Regions from separate parts of the Homo sapiens genome. Here region 2 is linked to region 1. Evidence: promoter capture Hi-C in human tissues and cell types (Jung and others, 2019). All regions are on one chromosome and are shown on one strand. The core of a region is centred on a gene start or on the middle of the fragment in contact, and the rest is flanking DNA. Distances in the headings are between cores, read along the strand shown. Region 1 holds the start of POU4F1 (POU class 4 homeobox 1). Region 2 overlaps OBI1-AS1 (OBI1 antisense RNA 1).

What was found. Contacts are between HindIII fragments. The study calls those that stand out against the background at their distance.
Region 2: a fragment that was not itself captured here is called in contact with the fragment with the promoter of POU4F1 in region 1 in 1 of the 25 tissues and cell types used here (aorta).

What each region holds. Positions count from the first base shown.
Region 1 is chr13:78,602,199-78,605,705 of GRCh38, forward strand. POU4F1 (POU class 4 homeobox 1) reads right to left here and starts at 1,354. Exons shown (of 2, transcript NM_006237.4): 1 at 1,006-1,354; 2 at 1-353. The coding sequence starts at 1,128. OBI1-AS1 (OBI1 antisense RNA 1) reads left to right here. Exons shown (of 6, transcript NR_047001.1): 4 at 3,103-3,246. RefSeq lists a silencer at 1,145-1,304. The HindIII fragment of the contact is 11,230 bases long and covers 1-3,507 here.
Region 2 is chr13:78,562,745-78,566,444 of GRCh38, forward strand. The region is part of intron 3 of OBI1-AS1 (OBI1 antisense RNA 1); the gene reads left to right. Among named protein-coding and RNA genes, the nearest start is that of POU4F1, 39 kb to the right of the region's middle. The HindIII fragment of the contact is 3,594 bases long and covers 1-3,389 here.

The DNA.
Region 1 (3,507 bases), core at 104-2,603:
GGGCCGCCGCCGCCGCCCGGGCCGCCACCGCCCCCCGGGCCGTCGTGGGCGCCGCCGCCGCCGGCCGCCGCGCCCGCGCCGCCCGCGCCGGCCATGAGCGCGAGCGACGGCGAGGAGATGTGGTCCAGCAGATCGCCGGGTTCGAGCGCCTGGTGGTGGTGGTGGTGGTGGTGGTGGTGCGCCAGAGGCACCGTGGAAGTGGACGTGCACGGCACGCTGTTCATCGTGTGGTACGTGGCGTCCGGCTTGAAAGGATGGCTCTTGCCCTGGGACACGGCGATGTCCACGGCCGCCAGCGCCTCGGCCCGCGCCAGCAGCGTCTCGTCCAGGCTGGCGAAGAGGTTGCTCTGCAGCTGCAGGCGACACAAACCAAACCAAAAAAACCACAAAACCAAAAGAGCAAAACAAAACAACAGAAGAAACACACACACAGGCCGGAAAGCACAGCATGCGAAGGGCAAACACAAAGCAACCAAAATAACAACGGGTTTGGGGGCAGTGGAGAGCGGGAAAGACGGAGAGGGGGCACATTGACGACCAGGGAGGGGGCAGACGAGAAGGGATGGGAGCGTGGAGAGGGGGACAGAAGTAGGGAGAAAGGGGGACACAAGAACACATTCCGGAAACGGGCGTGGGAGACGAAAAAGAGGGAAAAGAAGAAATGGAAATGTAACTCGCAGCTGGGGACCCGTGTCACACACCCGAGCACGCACAGAGACTGCCTTTCTGAGGCGTGAAATTAACAGAGAAAGTAGAGGGAAGTCGAGAGTCCTGGCCCCAGCGCTCCCTACTCCGATCGCAGGCGCCTGACGCGGAGGCAGAGGCAGACAGGAACACGACATTAAGGGCCGCCGGACAAAACGTGCCTCGCTGCGGGACTGCTCTACACCCCCTGCCCGCAGTTCCCCGCACCGGGACCTGCACACACCAGCCCCCGACATGCAGCGTTTCGGAGACGGGGAGGGGCGGGCGCGCGGGCCGGGGCCGCGGGCGTGGGGCGCTTACCGGCGGCGTGGGCAGGCAGGCCCGCCGGATGGCCTCGGAGCTGGAGTGCAGCGACGGGTACTTGTGCTCAGGGAGGGTGGGATGCATGGCAAAGTGAGGCTGCTTGCTGTTCATGGACATCATCGTGGCGGCTTGGCATGTATATCCACAAACACTCCGAAAGTCCGCGGGAAAGTGCGTACGCCGGCTCACCCGGCCTCCCTTCGGAGGCTGCAGCCGCGGCGGTCGCGGCGGCTGGCGGCGGCCCCGCCGCGGGCTGCTGCTGCTGCTCCTGCTGCTGCCAGGCGCTCCCTCTGACCGCGCAGAGCGCCGCGCGCCGGCCTCGCGGTCCCGCTTCTCCGACAGCTCTAGCCCCGCGCGCCGACGGGATGCACTCCTCTAACACCTGAGCCCCACTTCTCGCGGCCGTCCCGGGGAGCTCTCGCGAGAGCTCGCGGCCCCACCGCGCTGACAGGCATCAGCTGTCTCCGTCTGTCTGACGCGCGCTCTCCTTCTCGGCGGCCCCGTGCGTCTGCGCGCGCGCGCGCTCGTCCGGCCGCGACCAGCGCGTGGGAGCCGCTCTTATAGTGACCACCAGCAAGGACAGCGCAGGTGATGCACCTGTAGCTACCCGGGCATGCGCACTGCCCGCCTCACCTTTCCCACCGTGGTCTGGAAAGATCAGAAGGTCCAGCTATTGTCTAAGGGTGGGCACCTTTTAGAATAAAAAAGACGAGATGCGCGCACGCCCCTCTATGTGTGTGTGTGTGTGTGTGTGTGCGTGCGTGTGTGTGTATGTGTGTATGTTTCTTCTCCCTGATAGCAAGCCTTGAATATATGAGCATTACTTAGGCATTCCTCCTCTTCGGGATGCCTAACAAGCTGTTGTATAATGTATACAGCTGGACATTTCTACGTTAAATTATGCCCGCGCATTCCTCTGTATACAGTATAAATAACAACACAGAAATGCAGAAGGTGCTGTCTTTTGCTGCAAGAACCTGTTTCTTTAAAGGTTTATAAATAGGTTCCTGGAGAATAATCGCGGTGACAGACATTTGTTTGAAGCAGTCAGACGCTATTGATTTCCATATAATTTAATTTCCTCCGCATACTTTTTTGTTGTTGTTGTGAATATAACTGTGTCAGGCACCGCCAGTGACAGCCACTTAGGAGCCACAAGGAGCGTGTGCTTTCTACTCGGGAAAAGCTGTTGAAATGAAATTGTGCATTTCTCTTATTGTTTGTCTCCTTCAACCGTGTACAAACCCACGTTTCAAACGAGCTCCGGGTGATCTAAGGCTTCTAGTAATCAAAAGGAAAAAACAGTTAACAGGGTGTAGTTGGGATCCTTCCTCCCCTCAGCGTACACACACACACACACACACACACACACACACACACACTTTATGCTGGGAACTCCAGGAAAACTGCTTCAGAGAAAAGGGAATAAGATGTTGAAAAGAGAACTTTCTTTTCCCTTCCATCTTTTTGGCTTTTTGCCTCATATCTCTGCCTGCTTATATATATTTTTTTCAATAGGAGACAGATCAAACTAACTTACAGGAAAGCTTGATTCAAAAATATTAAATCAAGCCAATTTGAAAGAACGGGGACAAGCTCTGGTCCAGTTTTTAAATTTTTAAAAAATTATTGTGAAATTAAGACCTAAAAAGAATAAATCAATTAGCCAACCTGTTATATGGCCCTTATGTGGTAGCAGATCAAGAGCCTCCCAGGGGAGCCACAGTTCAGGTGCCAAAGTCCCCAGGGAAGGAGCACTTGCTCGCGGTGATAATAACCTAACAGCCCAGATGTTATCACATCTGCGGTAAGAGAGCTGGAGAGCAGCAAGGGGCTGCTTATGGAAAGCAGAAATCAGATAATCTTTCTGTTCTCTCCCACACCAAGGAAGTCTGTATTTCCACCAAAGAGCAGATCTCATTTCTATAAACCTAAATTTGCGTTCCCGTGGATTTTATCTTTCCTCTGCACAAATGCATGTGTGTTTAGCATACCCACTCACCTACTCAGATTCCAAGAAGAGCCCACAGGCGTCACCATGGCTTTTTCTTTCTTTCTTTTCATGTTCCCCCCCACCCCCTCCCTTCCTTCTAGCTCCAGAGGGAAGTGAGAAGGATGTTCACTTGCTGGTGAGAGAAGGAGCTGGTTCCATCCATTACGCAGTCCCCTGGGAGCGCTAAATGCAACTTTATCTCAACGGGGAGTGGACGATGAGCAGGACGTCGCTAGAGGGAAAGAGTGAGTCCTACGGTAGTCATCACACCGGGAGTCCGGGCTTAACCTAGTCCTTCCTGACACCCCTGGTGGCCGTTCCCTGCGCTCTCTCTTGACGGGAAAGAAAAGGCCCCCACAGAGGGTGAGGGCCTGGAACCTGCCCCTCCCCTCTCAAGGAAGCGCTGGTCTTTAGGGACCCTGAAGGGTACAGGAGCAACAGAAAGGTAAACAGTACAGGTTTGCGGCCGGGTGGGGCCTCTGAGAGCCAGGTGAGCTCCTGAGTAC
Region 2 (3,700 bases), core at 343-2,842, 39 kb before region 1:
GCCAGGGGAAAGGAAACTGTGCTGCCTACCTGTCATTCTCTACCTTAGGGCACTATACACAGTGCCTGGCACATGGTGGGTTCACAGAAATATTGACTGAATAAATAGAGGATGGATGGATGGGTGGATAAATGCATAGATGGGTGGATGAACTCAATGTACCTAAGCATTGTTTTATTTAATTCTCACAATCCTATAAGGCAAGTGCTATTGTAGCCACATTTCCTCCCTCCCTTCAAGCCATCATGCACATGAGGCAAAGGATAAGAGAAAAAAAGATGAGGCAGTGGAAACTAATATGTATGAGTTAATATGCATACCCAGTATTTTTACTTCAAAATCCATTTTTTTGTGAATGTGATGCTTACTGTACTGCCATTTCTCATACACGTCAGGATATCACCTCAGGAAACTGGAGTACGTAAACCCTAATGGAACAGGCTATGATCCTAGTAGTATTATAAGTTGTGAAGATAGAAGGTAAGGAAATGGTTTACCTCTCTGATCACCAAGGAGCCATGCAGAACTCCCAGCAATAGAAAGAGCTGAGCATCTTGGCCAGTCCTCCTGTGTCCTAGCTTTGATGTATGTGGTGTAACTAAGAACAGATTAAAGAAATATGGTACCTGTGTTGTGGATCATATGTTTAACATCTTTGGTTTGTTTTCCTTGCTCATGATGAAGTCTGTAATAGACTTAACCTCATTTAAATCACTGTGTTTGTGGACAGCACACAATCCTCCCTTACCATAGAAGTTACTCAGATATGTAGAACTCTAGTATCTTTAGCTGGAGAGGAAACCTGTGGGAGGGAAGGGCTGATGGGGAATTAGAAATAGAATTCCTGAGAAATTGGATAACTTAATCTGGAGAAAAAAACTGAAAATGCAAACAATGGCACATTGATTCTGTAGAATTAATTGTAAGAAAGATATCATCAAATTTTTTCTCCATTTTTCTGTCAGAATCAGAGTGTAAAAGTAAACTATAGTGGGAGGAATGCATGTAATTCCATACCTGTACCCCTTTGCCACCTGGAAAACTACTTTTGTGCCAAGTTCCCGAGTTACTAGAATGATTTAAATCAAGCTGGTCTCTCCAATCAATATTTTTTCTAAAGGAAGTGTGGGATATAGTGGAAGGAGCTCAGAAGTTCACCTGGATCTGACACAGAGAAGAGGAACACTAGCTAGCTGGCAGACTTTAGCAGGATCAGAGCCAATGTTCAAAAAAGAAGGAAATAGAACAGGGAAACAAAGCCCACTGAATTCTATTGAGCAGAATGACAATAATGGATGTCTTGTTATAGACAGAACCCGGCTAAGACCTCTAATTCCATTGCCTCATTTAGTCGTTACAAGAATAATTATTGGTAGGTACTATTTTTTATCTCCATCTTAACAATAGTAAAAGAAGTCTCAATCATGTTGAGCCTCATCTTTTTTCTTTCATTCTCAAGAATATAAAATAAAAAATAAATTTTAAAAAAAAGAAAGCTCCGAAAGGTTAAGCAACTTATTCAAGCTTATACAGTAGGTGGCAAAGCTGTAATCCAAACCCAGACCATTATGATTCCAATCTCTAATCTTGGTTACTAATATATAAACCCAAATAACTAACAAGTCAATCAACCTTATTTTTTCCTGATCTCCATTTATATTGGAAAGATAAAAGCAAACAATAAGATAACAGAGATCTAACTTTAAAACAAATTAAAACACGTCCACACTGCTCTCAGAGCAGTACAAAGTCAGCTGTATTATTACCTCTATTTCCCATTTATTCAGTCAGTCAATTGTTCCACAGAAATTTATTACAAATTTATGTTTAGGCTGAACAAAGATCTGAATAGGCAAGCTTATTATGTCTGTTATATCTGTTATATTATATGCAATATATGTACTGTATATGCCTATTGTACATTTATTATAAATGGGAAATTTATACAAAATATTTTAAACACAATGGTAAACAGCCAGAAATACATTTTGAGGAGAGGAGGAGTTCTGCTTTTCTCACAGGTTAAATCAATTAACCACTCTCTTAACATTACAGCTTTTTGAGGTTTTACTGTAGTGTTTTTTGTGTACTTATATCATTTGCTAATAACAACTAAGGAAATGTCCAGCTAGTTACCAGGGAAGCTCAACTACCTCTAAGCCTATCATTATTAGAATTCAATAATACGCAAATCAATATCAAGATTGAAAAAAGAAAGGAAGGCCCAAAGTGTTCCTTGAAAAGACAGCTTCTCATAGAATGACGGACAACCAGGTTTTATTTACTTCGTAGCTAATTTGAAAAATGCTTTTGAGGGTTGGAAGATGTTTGAGGAAATACAACTGGCTACTAGCCAACTACAATACTGCTTCCCAAAAGGGTCCACCCATCAGACTAGAATAACGGAGCTCCTTCTGAGGAGTCCAGGGAGGAATTACTGGAAATGGCAAAGTATATTAGACCTAATATTATCCCACAACATAACATGATGTATTAACACTCTGCCTGAATTCAAGATGTTTATTGATTTCTTAAATCTTAACTAGGTTACATTTGCATTATATAGTACAAAAGAACCATTTTAAGTTATTTCTGTTCACATCTCAGGCTGAGTATTTTGCCTAAAATATTTCTTCTCTGACTGAATTTATAGAGTGAACTGAGATGATACAAGTAACCAAAGTTAATCATAAAATATTTACGTGCATTAAATACTGCATTTATTCATAGTCAGAGGCCAAAATAATGTTTAAATGGGAGCATGTCTGATAGTAATATCAAATTGAGATAAATTTGTGAACGATAGTTTGATTGCATGGAATCTAATAACTAAGTTGAGGTCCAGTGTTATGTAAAAGAAACAAGAAAAACGTTCGGCCTAAATTTTTTTTAAAAAGTGAGATTGACAATTTAAATAAGTGTGTACTAATTTCCTGCAGCATAGCACTTGCTCAGAGGTCATGTATCCTGCAAGCCCAACTATCCGGAAAGACAGGACTAGGAAAGACCTCTGCACCATCAAATAAACATCAAAGTTTCATCAAGTTAGGCTGACCTGGGCTCATATTCAGGCACCACATTGGAGGTTTATTTCACATAAGTCACTTCACTACCTTGAGTATATTTTCAACTGTACCCTAATTTACAGGGCTGCTGTCAGAATTAGTGTTAATAGAAGTGCCTTCAAAGTGCTGACACATAATAGGCTCTCCACGGAAAGTAATTAGCATAGCGTTATGGGCTAAATTGTGTTTCCCCAAAATTCCTATGTTGAAGCCCTAATCTCCAGTACCTGAGAATGTAACTGTATTTGGACACTGGGCCTTTAAAAAGGTAATTAAGGTATTATAGGTTATATGGGTGGGATCTAATTAAGTATGACTCGTGCCATTATAAGAAGAGGAAATTCAGGCTGGGTGCGGTGATTCAGGCCGGGCGCGGTGGCTCAAGCCTGTAATCCCAGCACTTTGGGAGGCTGAGGCAGGTGGATGACCTGAGGTCAGGAGTTCAAGACCAGCCTGACCAATATGATGAAACCCCATCTCTACTAAAAAATACAGAAATTAGCTGGGCGTGGTGGCAGGCGCCTGTAATCCCGGCTATTCGGGAGGCTGAGACAGGATAATTGCTTGAACCCGGGAAGCGGAGGTTGCAGTGAGCCAAGATCGCGCCAGTGCACTCCAGCCTGGGCAACAAGAGC